Regions from separate parts of the Homo sapiens genome. Here all the other regions are linked to region 3. Evidence: promoter capture Hi-C in human tissues and cell types (Jung and others, 2019). All regions are on one chromosome and are shown on one strand. The core of a region is centred on a gene start or on the middle of the fragment in contact, and the rest is flanking DNA. Distances in the headings are between cores, read along the strand shown. Region 1 has its middle 14 kb from the start of FBXL14. Region 2 holds the start of ADIPOR2 (adiponectin receptor 2). Region 3 holds the start of KDM5A (lysine demethylase 5A).

Region 1 (3,579 bases), core at 530-3,029, 1.2 Mb after region 3:
TACTAAAAATACAAAAATTAGCCAGTGTGATGGTGTACGCCTGTAATCCCACCTGCTCAGGAGGCTGAAGCAGGAGAATCGCATGAACCTGGGAGACGGAGGTTGCAGTCAGCTGAGATCGAGCAACTGCACTCCAGCCTGGGCGACAGAGCAAGACTCCGTCTCAAAATAAACAAACAAACTAACTAACTAACTAACTAACTTACTATTGAAGGCCAAAGAGTTCAAGTAACTAACATAAGAAATCAGTGGCTACTGTTGTAACCATCAAGAATTCTTTAATGGGCCAGGTGCAGTGGCTCAGGCCTGTAATCCCAACACTTTGGGAGGCCAAGGCAGGTGGATTACGAGGTCAGGAGTTCGGGATCAGCCTGGCCAACATGGTGAAACCCTGTCTCTACTAAAAATACAAAAATTAGCTGGGTCTGGTGGAGCACACCTGTAATCCTAGCTACTCAGGAGGCTGAGGCAGAATTGCTTGAACTGGGGAGGCGGAGGTTGCAGTGAACTGAGATCACGCAACTGCACTCCAGCCTGGGTGACAGAGCAAGACTCTGTCTCAGAAAAAAAAAGAAAGAAAGAAAAAAAAAAGAATTCCTTAATTTCCTTAATTTAACTGGTTCAGGGAACCTAAATGAGAGTTGTCACATAATAGCAAATCTTAGTGACCAGATGACACTCAAAGCAGGTGTAAATATTTAACAAAAGCACTGTGTAGACATTTAATGACAATGGTTGCTTTTTGTTTGCTTGCTTTTTATTTGTTTACAAATGAAAATAAAGCAGAGAATGAGAAGTCACTTTCTCAGGGTCACGGGAACAATTCAGGTTGAACGCATCTCTCCTCCGACATGCCGAGCGTCTTTGAGTCTCCTCACCCAGGCGCACACTCAGGATTGCAGTCATCTGCTATTGTTGCCTTTATTTATTTTGAGACGGAGTCTCGCTCTTGTCACCCAGGCTGGAGTGCAGTGATGCGATCTCGGCTCACTGCAACCTCCGCCTCCCGGGTTCAAGGGATTCTCCTGCCTCAGCCTCCCGAATAGCTGGGACTACAGGCATGTACCACCACGCTCAGCTAATTTTTTTTTTTTTGTATTTTTAGTAGAGACGGGGTTTCACCATGTTGGCCAGGCTGGTCTTGAACTCCTGAGTTCAGGTGATCCACCCGTCTCGGCCTCCCAAAGTGCTGGGATTACAGGTAGGAGCCACTGCACCTGGCCTATTGTTGCCTTTTTACTTGATATTTCAATAAATTTGTGAGCAATTGGAATGGTAAGAAATTCGCTGCAGTACATAAAAGTTTGATCACTTAGACTGCTGTGTGATTAGGGTTGCTCAGTGATCTTCCGGCAATAAAGGGAGGAAAAGGAGAAATTTCAGATGGAGTGATGATGGATGTCCTCAGGCATGTCAATGGCTGCTGAAGTGCTATGGGAAAATGGAAAACACAATCTTTGGGATCCCTCTTTCAGCCATTTTCCTGCTTTTATATCTATAAACTTTAAAAAGTAGGGCATACTTTAAACAATAGTATACTAAGAAATTGTCACCGCTGGCAGAGCCAAAATTGAATCAGCTTGCCTTGTGATTACATCAGAAATGTGTCTTAGTCTGTAAAGCTTCACTACAGGAAATGCCCAGGAGCTGCTAATAAAGTTTAATACACATTTGCTTCCTTAATGCTATATTAACATCCTGACCATCACAACTTTCATTGTAAACCTATTGCTTATTAAAAACACCCTGTAAGATGTCACAAACTGACAGAAAGTTGGGGCTACTACATGAATTAATATGCTAACTAGTATTTTTCAGTGTTATATAGTATAAGATAGTAAGTGCTTGAAATATGAGCATTTTGAAATCCTTGGCCAGCATAATCCCATGGGTAACACTGAATTATCCATGGCTGTGGGAGAGAGCAGGTGGTTCACTTCCAACCATGGGTTGTGTTCCAAACTAAGGGTTTTTGTTTGTTTTGTTTTCTTTCTTTTAAAGAAAATCAAGTTTATTTTTGAAACTGTTCATTTTAATTCTAAGACAAAGCTAGAAAAAGAAGAATGGAAGATCTGGAAAAAAAGCATTGTCAACTGTCACTGTCCTACCATGGGAAAGAAATGTCTTACAAACGGAAAAAAAAGTTGGAGAGAACGAGAAGTTTCTGGTGTTATGTAAGAGGAAGCGCCCAGATTACATATAAAAGTCAACTGCTTCACGCCCTGTTACTAAATATTAGGGATGCAAAATACGTGGTGGCAGTAAGTCAGAGCCTGGTTTCCTAAATATTTCTTACATGTTAGGGATCCTGAGAGATCCCTAAACAAGTAGAAAATTCTTTTTTTTTTCTTTTTGAGACAGGGTCTCACTCTGTTGCCTAGGCTGAAGTGCAATGGCATAATCATGGCTCACTGCAGCCTCAACCTCCTGGGATCCTGGGCTCCTGGGCTCCTGGGGTGATCCTCCCACCTCAGCCTCCCGAGAAGTTCCACTACAGCCAGCCACCACGCCTGGCTAATTTTGCATTTTTAGTAGAGACGGGGTTTCTCCATGTTGGTCAGGCTGGTCTCGAACTCCTGACCTCAAGTGAGCCACCCGCCTCGTCCTCCCAAAGTGCTGGGATTACAGGTGTGAGACACTGCGCCCGGCCAACAAGTGGAAAATACTATCCTGAATGAGTGTGTGTGTGCCTGCTGGGAGAATATTTCCTAGTGTTTCCTAGATCCTTGTTAGTTGACTTCCCACCCACAAAGCCCCAGAAGGAGTAAACTGTCTCTAAATATCAGAATAAACAACAACAATAAAACAACTTTTATATTTTCATTTCTTTTTCTTTTTGTTTTGTTTTGTTTTGTTTTGTTTTGTTTTTTGAGACAGGGTCTCACTCTGTTGCTCAGGCTGGAGTGCAGTGGTGTAATCATGGCTCACTGCAGCCTTGAACTGCTGGTCTCAAGCAATTCTCCTGCCCCAGCCTACCAAGCAGCTGGGACTACAGGCATGCGCCACCACACCCAGCTAATTTTAAAATTTTTTGTAGAGACAGGGTGTCCCTATATTGCCCAGGCTGGTCTCTAACTCCTGGTCTCAAGTGATCCACCTGCCTCAGCCTCCCAAAATGCTGGGATTTCCGGCGTGGACCTCACTGCCCAGCTAAAACAACTTTTAAAAGGTATATTAGAGATCCAACTAGATTCTACTCTTGCATTTATCTGCAGCATATCAGTTTGGTTTGCCCATGGTTAGGTGGTTCTTGGTCTGGGTCTTAGTTTCATGCGTCTATGCATATGTGGAAACTCATCAAGCTGTACATTTAAGACTTGTGCGTTTTAACTCTGTGTGTTTTGTTTCAATTTTAAAAAGTTTTTATTTATTTATTTTTTAAGTCAGAAGGGGTTTAATGGGTCAAGAAAAGTTTACTTCTGTGCACACAAATTATCTCAAGGTCTGTTTGTTCAAACAGGGTAACCAAACAGGGACCGATTCTACAGTGGCTGCTGCCCGGAGTTTTACACAGATGGGAGCATGGCCGTACCCCTGAACCCTCCAACCTTCTCTTGCCTGTGATTACCACTCCTTCCC
Region 2 (3,293 bases), core at 678-3,177, 1.3 Mb after region 3:
AGCCCTTCGTTTTGTCAAACCAGAATCTTTTTTTTTTTTTTTTTTGAGACAGAGTCTTGCTCTGTCACACAGGCTGGAGTGCAGTGGCACGGTCTCAGCTCACTGCAACCTCTGCCTCTCAGGTTCAAGTGATTCTCCTGCCTCAGCCTCCAGAGTACCTGGGATTACAGGCACGCGCGACCATGCTTGGCTAATTTTTTGTATTTTTGTAGAGACGGGGTTTCGCCATGTTGGCCAGGCTGGTTTTGAACTCCTGACCTCAAGTGATCTGCCCATCTCGGCCTCCCAAAGTGCTAGGATTACAGGTGTGAGCCACCACGCTTGGCCTGGAAACCAGTCTTTAAGAGAAAGGGATGCAGGAAAGATTGGAGATCTTTGAAGAATCTCTTTTTAAGAAAATTATCTTTTTCGCTCTAGTTCTGTCACCTTTAGTAGACTCTTTATTAAGCCTAAGAATCTTATACTTCTTATCTCTGTTCTATGTGAGTTGGTATAACGGGTCAAATTCACAATCCAGAAATGCCTGTATTGTTTCTGATGTGCTGAGGAGGTGTACAATTGTCTTCCTTGATTTCAACCTCAAAAGCTTTACATCTTTACCTGGGAACATAGAAGTCATTATTATTATGTCTTTCACAAATTATGTAAACTTAAAAAAATTATATTTTCAATGTAAACCACTCCTTGGAGGAAATTAGTTCCTTTAACATTTATTTCCTAATTTTAATTTCTACTAGTTTTATCTCTTTCAAGCTTAAATGAGTGGGCCTTAGTTCTGTATTATTGCCATCTTAATCATGTTCTTTGTGATTTTAGTAGCTTTACTTTTTAAAACTTACATTTCCATAATGAAGACTTCTGTATTTTTGTTTTTTTCGTCATATATCCGACTCCAGCTCCCTCAAGACCTGTCAGCTTTTCCCTGCACCCTTTGTTATCTCTTGCTGTGGTCCAAAGGTAAGGACAGTAAGCCGTGGGCACAGACTTTCCCTAAATCGTATGGATTTCCTTTAGTCAATAACAAGAATTTTGATAGTTAAGGCATTTACGCCTTAAGAATGTGATAAATTCCCCCTCCTACTGAATGTAAAGAACTATTTTTCTACGCAGACTAACTCTTATATTCACTTTTCTTATAGAATAAGTACGTAACCAAATCTGTTCTTGGCTTCTAAGAAGTTAGAACTCAACGTAAAGATGACTTGTGGAAAATTACTTACTCATTCTGGGTAAATGGACGCAGGTATTTAGTGCTTAAGTAGGTTCTGATATACCATTACATTAACATCATTTTAAAAATCGCTCTGAATTATATGTATTTTAAGAGTGACTGGGTTTTAAAAAAAATAGAAGTGGTAGAGCATAAATCATAATCTTTAATAAGGTAATAAAAGGCAAACACTATTGCTCTGGGCAAAACTGGGCTAATGCTTTTGGATTTCTTTCCGCAGTCTTCACAGACGACGCTCAGCATCCTATCAGCCCTTGGCAGAGACACACGATCCAGCCTAAATCCTCAAATTCTGGCTCTTGCCCAAAGTGTGTAGCCAGTATCCATAGAGACTGCGAAAAGCATCCGCGAGCCGGGGCGGCCCCCTCCTCCTCAGCTCCAAATTGCTTCCTTTTTCGGTGGGAGAAAAAACTCCGAGGAGTTGTGTGAGCGCCTAAGGAGCGCACGCTCCTCCGGCCCTCAACACCCAGTATAGTTTTCGCTAAGTTCCTGGCCGAACCACAGCTCCCACGATGCACCCAGGTTTTAGAGCGGTCAGAGGGGCGGCTTCCGGTTTAGGACAGCGCGGCTGCGCACGGCGTGTGGTCTTATTGGCTCGAACCGCCTCGTGCGATGCGCGTCACGGCGACGTGCGGTCGTGGGGGCGGGGAGACGCGGCGGCGGCGGTCGCTGTCGCGGCGGCGAGAGCGCGATTCCAGAAGCGGCATCGCGGCGGCGGCAGCGGCGGCGGCTACACCGGGCTTGGCCCCCTCCCTCCTCCGTTCCCCCCTCCTCCCCCCTCCCCTCAGCGGTGGCTCCCAAGAAGTCCGAGACACGCGGTGAGGCGGCGACGGGCTCCGGGTGAGGGTCTCTGGAGTGTGGGCGCCGTTTCCTGGGCGCAGAGGGAGAGCTTGGGGTCGGGGGGAGGTGAGAGCTGAGGGGCGAATGTCCCTGGCGCGGGCGGGAGAGCGCGCTCTCGGCCCGGCCCGCAACTTGATTCCTAACTCTGACCTGCCGCCCGGCGCGCCTTGGCCTGAGGGTCGGCCGTGTGGGGACCTGGAGCCGCCCTCCTTGCGACCGCTGTCGGAGGAGTCCGGCGCCCGCTGTTCCCCTCGCCTCGCCTTTCGCGGCGGAGGGTCGGAGCCTGCTGCCCTCTGCTCACCTTCGGGTGCAGTTGCTCCAGCTCCCTGCCCGCGGAGAGGATCTGCCCGCCCCTCTTCGTCTCTTGTCTGTTTTTATCACTTCTAGGAATTTGTTTGGTGGAGGCTTGGGATGGGCTCTCTCAGCGCTACTTTCACAGTGACTGGGGTGGGGAAGAGTTCCCTCACCTTTTTCAGGTGGCGCGTCAGGCAGCCTGCTTGGTACCTGGAGTCCTGTTTTCCCAAGCCCCCGTCCGTCAGTGTTCGCTTCTTCTAAAATTACCGATGACAGGGTTATAAATCAGTTTTTAGGGGGCTCGGAGAGAGTTTGGGTTGGAAACTGTTAGCTCTTTTTTCCTCCTGGCTTTTGATCTTGATTTAAGCGTTTGCCTCTGAAATTTTGACAACTTCATAAGATGGTCCAAAAGTGAATTTTGGTAGAAAGATTTAAATGCACAGTTGGGATTTTATGGGGGTACGGTGACTTCATTGCAGGTTGTTGACTTTTTTTTTAAAATAAGATGTTCTTTTAATTTTTTGACTCTGGGTTTCTGAGCCTTGGTTATTGTCCCCCATTTCTGTTCCAAAAGCAGACTTTTTTTTTTTTTATCACCCCTTCCCCTCACCCAGAGAATCCCTTTAAACGCCAAGAAAGCTGTCATAACATTTAGCATTATTTGATCACAGAACTTTTCCAAATGAAATGCTAAAAATTCCTTCAGAAAAAAGCATCCATCTACCCATAGCATTATTTTTTGGGGGGAGGCTATACGTCTTGTCAGTTCTGAAAGTTTGAAGTGACCTCTTATCAAAGGCCACCCTTATGTCTCCTTAAACGACTCTTAGGTAATTCCTAGATGTTTTCATCCGTTCTGATAAATTTGTTGTCAGAGTGTTGATTGTGATGATCTGCAACTAAAATTATTTCATCAGTAAAGATTTCC
Region 3 (3,440 bases), core at 1-2,500:
TTTAAACAAGCATCCAGTTGACCCTGGTGCAAGTGGTCCAGCAACATCATTTAAAAAGCACTGGTCTAATGAGTAAAGAAAAACACCTTTGACCTTGAGTAATCACTCAACCTCTTGGGGCATTAATCCCCTCCACACAAGGGATAGTATCTGTTTTCCTTACCTCAAAGGTGAGATTATAATTAACCTTATAGGCAAACCTAGTTATCTGCAATAACTGTGATTCTAAAATCGTTGATCTTGAGTTCCCTACGTCAAGAGATTTCAACATTTCCTTCCACCTCCACTATAAACCAATTTTTCCTAAACCTCTAAATTTTAGAATTATTGCTGCTCCTTCTCTTTCCCCGCTAAGACTTTTTCACTGCGGCAATAATTAGTCTGGAGTTCTTGTCTAGTAATACCATCCGGTGAGACTAGAGCTCAGATAACCTTTTCAGAAACCCTAGCCCTGAGATGAGGCCTGCAAATATTTGATCCAACCAGGTCTTGAATAAAGAGATAGCCGACTATCAAACCATAATGAGGATACGTGAGGGAAGAATACGTCACGTCATAATACTGTACTTTAAACACCATATCGGCTAACGAAAGGCTTTAGGCCCACGGCTGAGAGAAAAGTATCAGTTCCCAAGTTCTAGGCGGAAGAGGCCCAAGAGACACCACTTTCTCGCTTTCAGACGTGTCTACATAAGACCACAAAAGAAACCGAGGCAAAAACATCCAGAAACAGGCTCCAGTTGTCTCAAAAGAGAGTACATATGAAACGAGACAAGGATCAGAAAAGTAAAGCTAAACCCAGTGTACGGACTCCCCCATTCTTCCTTCTCCCCCTCTCTCTTCACAGACTGAGGTACCTTGGGCGGCCGAATTTTGCAGATGCCGGTTTTCTCCGCCAAAGGCCGGATGCGGCCGATAAAGCTGAGCGGATCTGTGAACTCCTCCCAACTCGGCTCAAAGACGGGGCACTCTGGCGGTGGCACGAACTCCGCCGCGTAGCCCCCCGGCCCCACGCCCGCCATTGCAACGGCCGGGGGGGGGGGGGGGTCCCCGTGGGGAACCGGTGGAGAAAAGCTGGCTGAAGCCCACTAAGCCCGTTCAAGTCCCCTGACAGAGGCCGAAGCGCATCTTCGCGGACAAGAACCGTTCAACACAGAAACCCCAGAATCGCTTCCTCCTCCCGTTTGTTATTGTTTCTTGCAAGGCTTTTCCACTGAGGTTCAGGACTTTTCCGGAAGTTACCGTGCTGTCAAATCCCTCCGCCCCCTGCAGGAAACGGAATCCTTCCGCAGCTGCACGACGCCTGTGTGTCTGGCCTTTCCTTCTTCTTCTCTTCCCCGGCAGCACAGTGTGGCTGTTTGTCTCCTTGCCCGCCAAAGTTCTGCCCAGTCCAACGACTCCACGCAGCTCGCCCTTGGTAAGGGGTCGGGGAGGGGCACAAGCTCTTCTTTACTAGAGGTACGGATTGAGGGAAGCCGACGGGGCGAGGCGGGGCGAGGCGCAACGAGGCGGGGCGAGGCGCGACGCGACGTGACGCTTTCTTCCGGCGCGGAGGAATGTGTAATGCCCCAGAGGGCAGAGGTTGTGCTTCCGGTGAGGAGGGTCCCTTTCCCTTTTGTGTATCAGTGCACTCGAAAACACGCCGGGCTTAATCTTAAGCACCGCGCCTCACCGCCCGTGCTTCGTAATTTGTTTTAACCTACCCTGCTGCGTTTATAGCAAGTAGCCTTTCCAGCATTTCTCTTTTTTTAGCCCTTTGAATGCAGATATTTTACAGTAATCTCACTCTGCCACTTTATACCCGCCTCTTCTCCATCAAAACAAGTGCAGGTCTAACCCATCCCCTAAATCCTGCCAGCTGGCTTTAGCCACCATCCATGAATTGCTTTTCCTTTTACACAGGACGCAGCAGCTCTCCTGAATTACCAGCCAGTATCGTCTAGCTACCTGCAGGACATCTCACTTTGATAACTCAAAGTACTTTAATTGTTCACTGTTTCTTCAGTGTTCCTGGTTTCCATTAATGACTTCATCTATTCAGTTGCCTGAGCAAAAAAAAAAAAAAAAAAAAAAAATCAAGAAATAATCCTAATTCTTTCTGCTCTCACTTCCCATGTATAATCGTGTGTCTCTCCATCCCCGTTACCAGTATCCTAATTTAAATACTCTTACTGACAACAGCTGATTTCTCCTCTCAAATCCCTCTCCATCCACACGTTGGATTGCTTTGTCTAAAATCCAGAATTCATCTTGTCACTTTTCATCTCCAAACTCAACAACTCCAAACATCTTTTTTAATTGCTGATTTGCTGCTTTGCTCTCCAGCTTCATCTCTCCTGCTTCTCCATATGATCTACAGAAGTTTTTGTGGTGACTTTAGTACACCATGATTTTTCTCACCTCTGAGTAACAAATCAGGGGACTTTGAATAACGCAGATTGCCCTCCATAATGTGAGTAGGCCTTATCCAATCAACTGAAGGCCTGAATAGAACAAAAGACTGACCTTCCATGAGCAAGAAGGAATTTTGCCAGTAGATGGCTCTCAGACTTGAACTGTAGCATCACCTTTTCCCTGGCCTCCAGCCTGCCAACCCACCCTGCAGATTTTGGACTTGGAAGCTCTATAATCAAGTGAGTCAAGTCCTTAAAATAAATATCTTTATAAACACACACACACACACACACACACATCTTATTGGTTCTGTTTCTCTGGAGAACCGTGAATACATCTAGGGTTGGAGGGTTCAAGATGGCCTCACTTACGTGTCTGGCAGTTGGTGCTGGCTATTGGCTGGGAAGTCTTAGTTCTCCACATGGCTTCTCATCTTCTGGTAGATGGAGCTTTTCCACTGCATGGTGGTCTTAGCATTCTAAGAAGATGAGAGTGGAAGCAAAGACCTAAAGCCTAGACTCCAAAATGTACAAGATCACTCCATCATATTCTGTTGGTCAAAGCAAGTCATAAGACCATCCCAGATTCAAGAAGTGGGAAAATTCCAATTTTTTATGAGAAGAGTGACAATGTCACATTACAAAGGGGTGTAGACACAGGACGCTGTGATTCATAATAATTCCATACAATTATTATAATGATTTATGTCCAGGTGCAGTGGCTCACGCCTGTAATCCCAGCACTTTTTGAGGCCAAGGCGGGCAGATCACCTGAGGTCAGGAGTTTGAGACCAGCCTGGCCAACATGGTGAAATCCTGTCTCTATTAAAAATGTACAACAATTAGCCCAGGCGTGGTGGCAGGCGCCTGTAATCCCAGCTATCCAGGAGGCTGAGGCAGGAGAATTGCTTGAACCCAGGAGGTGGAAGTTGTAGTAAGCCGAGATCGTGCCACTGTACTCCAGCCTAGGCAAGAAGAGTGAGACTCTGTCTCCAAAAAAAAAAAAATTTACAACAAAGTCTTTGATTTTTACCACTTAAATCTGGA

Evidence for each region. Contacts are between HindIII fragments. The study calls those that stand out against the background at their distance.
Region 1: a fragment that was not itself captured here is called in contact with the fragment with the promoter of KDM5A in region 3 in 1 of the 25 tissues and cell types used here (dorsolateral prefrontal cortex).
Region 2: a contact is called between the fragment with the promoter of ADIPOR2 here and the fragment with the promoter of KDM5A in region 3, in 1 of the 25 tissues and cell types used here (hippocampus).

What each region holds. Positions count from the first base shown.
Region 1 is chr12:1,606,753-1,610,331 of GRCh38, forward strand. No RefSeq gene overlaps it. Among named protein-coding and RNA genes, the nearest start is that of FBXL14, 14 kb to the left of the region's middle. The HindIII fragment of the contact is 7,541 bases long and covers 1-3,579 here.
Region 2 is chr12:1,689,143-1,692,435 of GRCh38, forward strand. ADIPOR2 (adiponectin receptor 2) reads left to right here and starts at 1,928. Exons shown (of 8, transcript NM_024551.3): 1 at 1,928-2,049. RefSeq lists enhancers at 1,431-1,590, 1,611-1,660, 1,744-2,322 and silencers at 1,821-2,120, 2,141-2,230. The HindIII fragment of the contact is 10,259 bases long and covers 1-3,105 here.
Region 3 is chr12:388,070-391,509 of GRCh38, forward strand. It overlaps KDM5A (lysine demethylase 5A), which reads right to left and starts at 1,251. Exons shown (of 28, transcript NM_001042603.3): 1 at 858-1,251. The coding sequence starts at 1,022. LOC105369594 (a long non-coding RNA gene) reads right to left here. Exons shown (of 4, transcript XR_007063149.1): 4 at 1,964-2,872. It also overlaps a transcript of CCDC77 not described here. RefSeq lists an enhancer at 1,414-1,708. The HindIII fragment of the contact is 14,723 bases long and covers 1-3,440 here.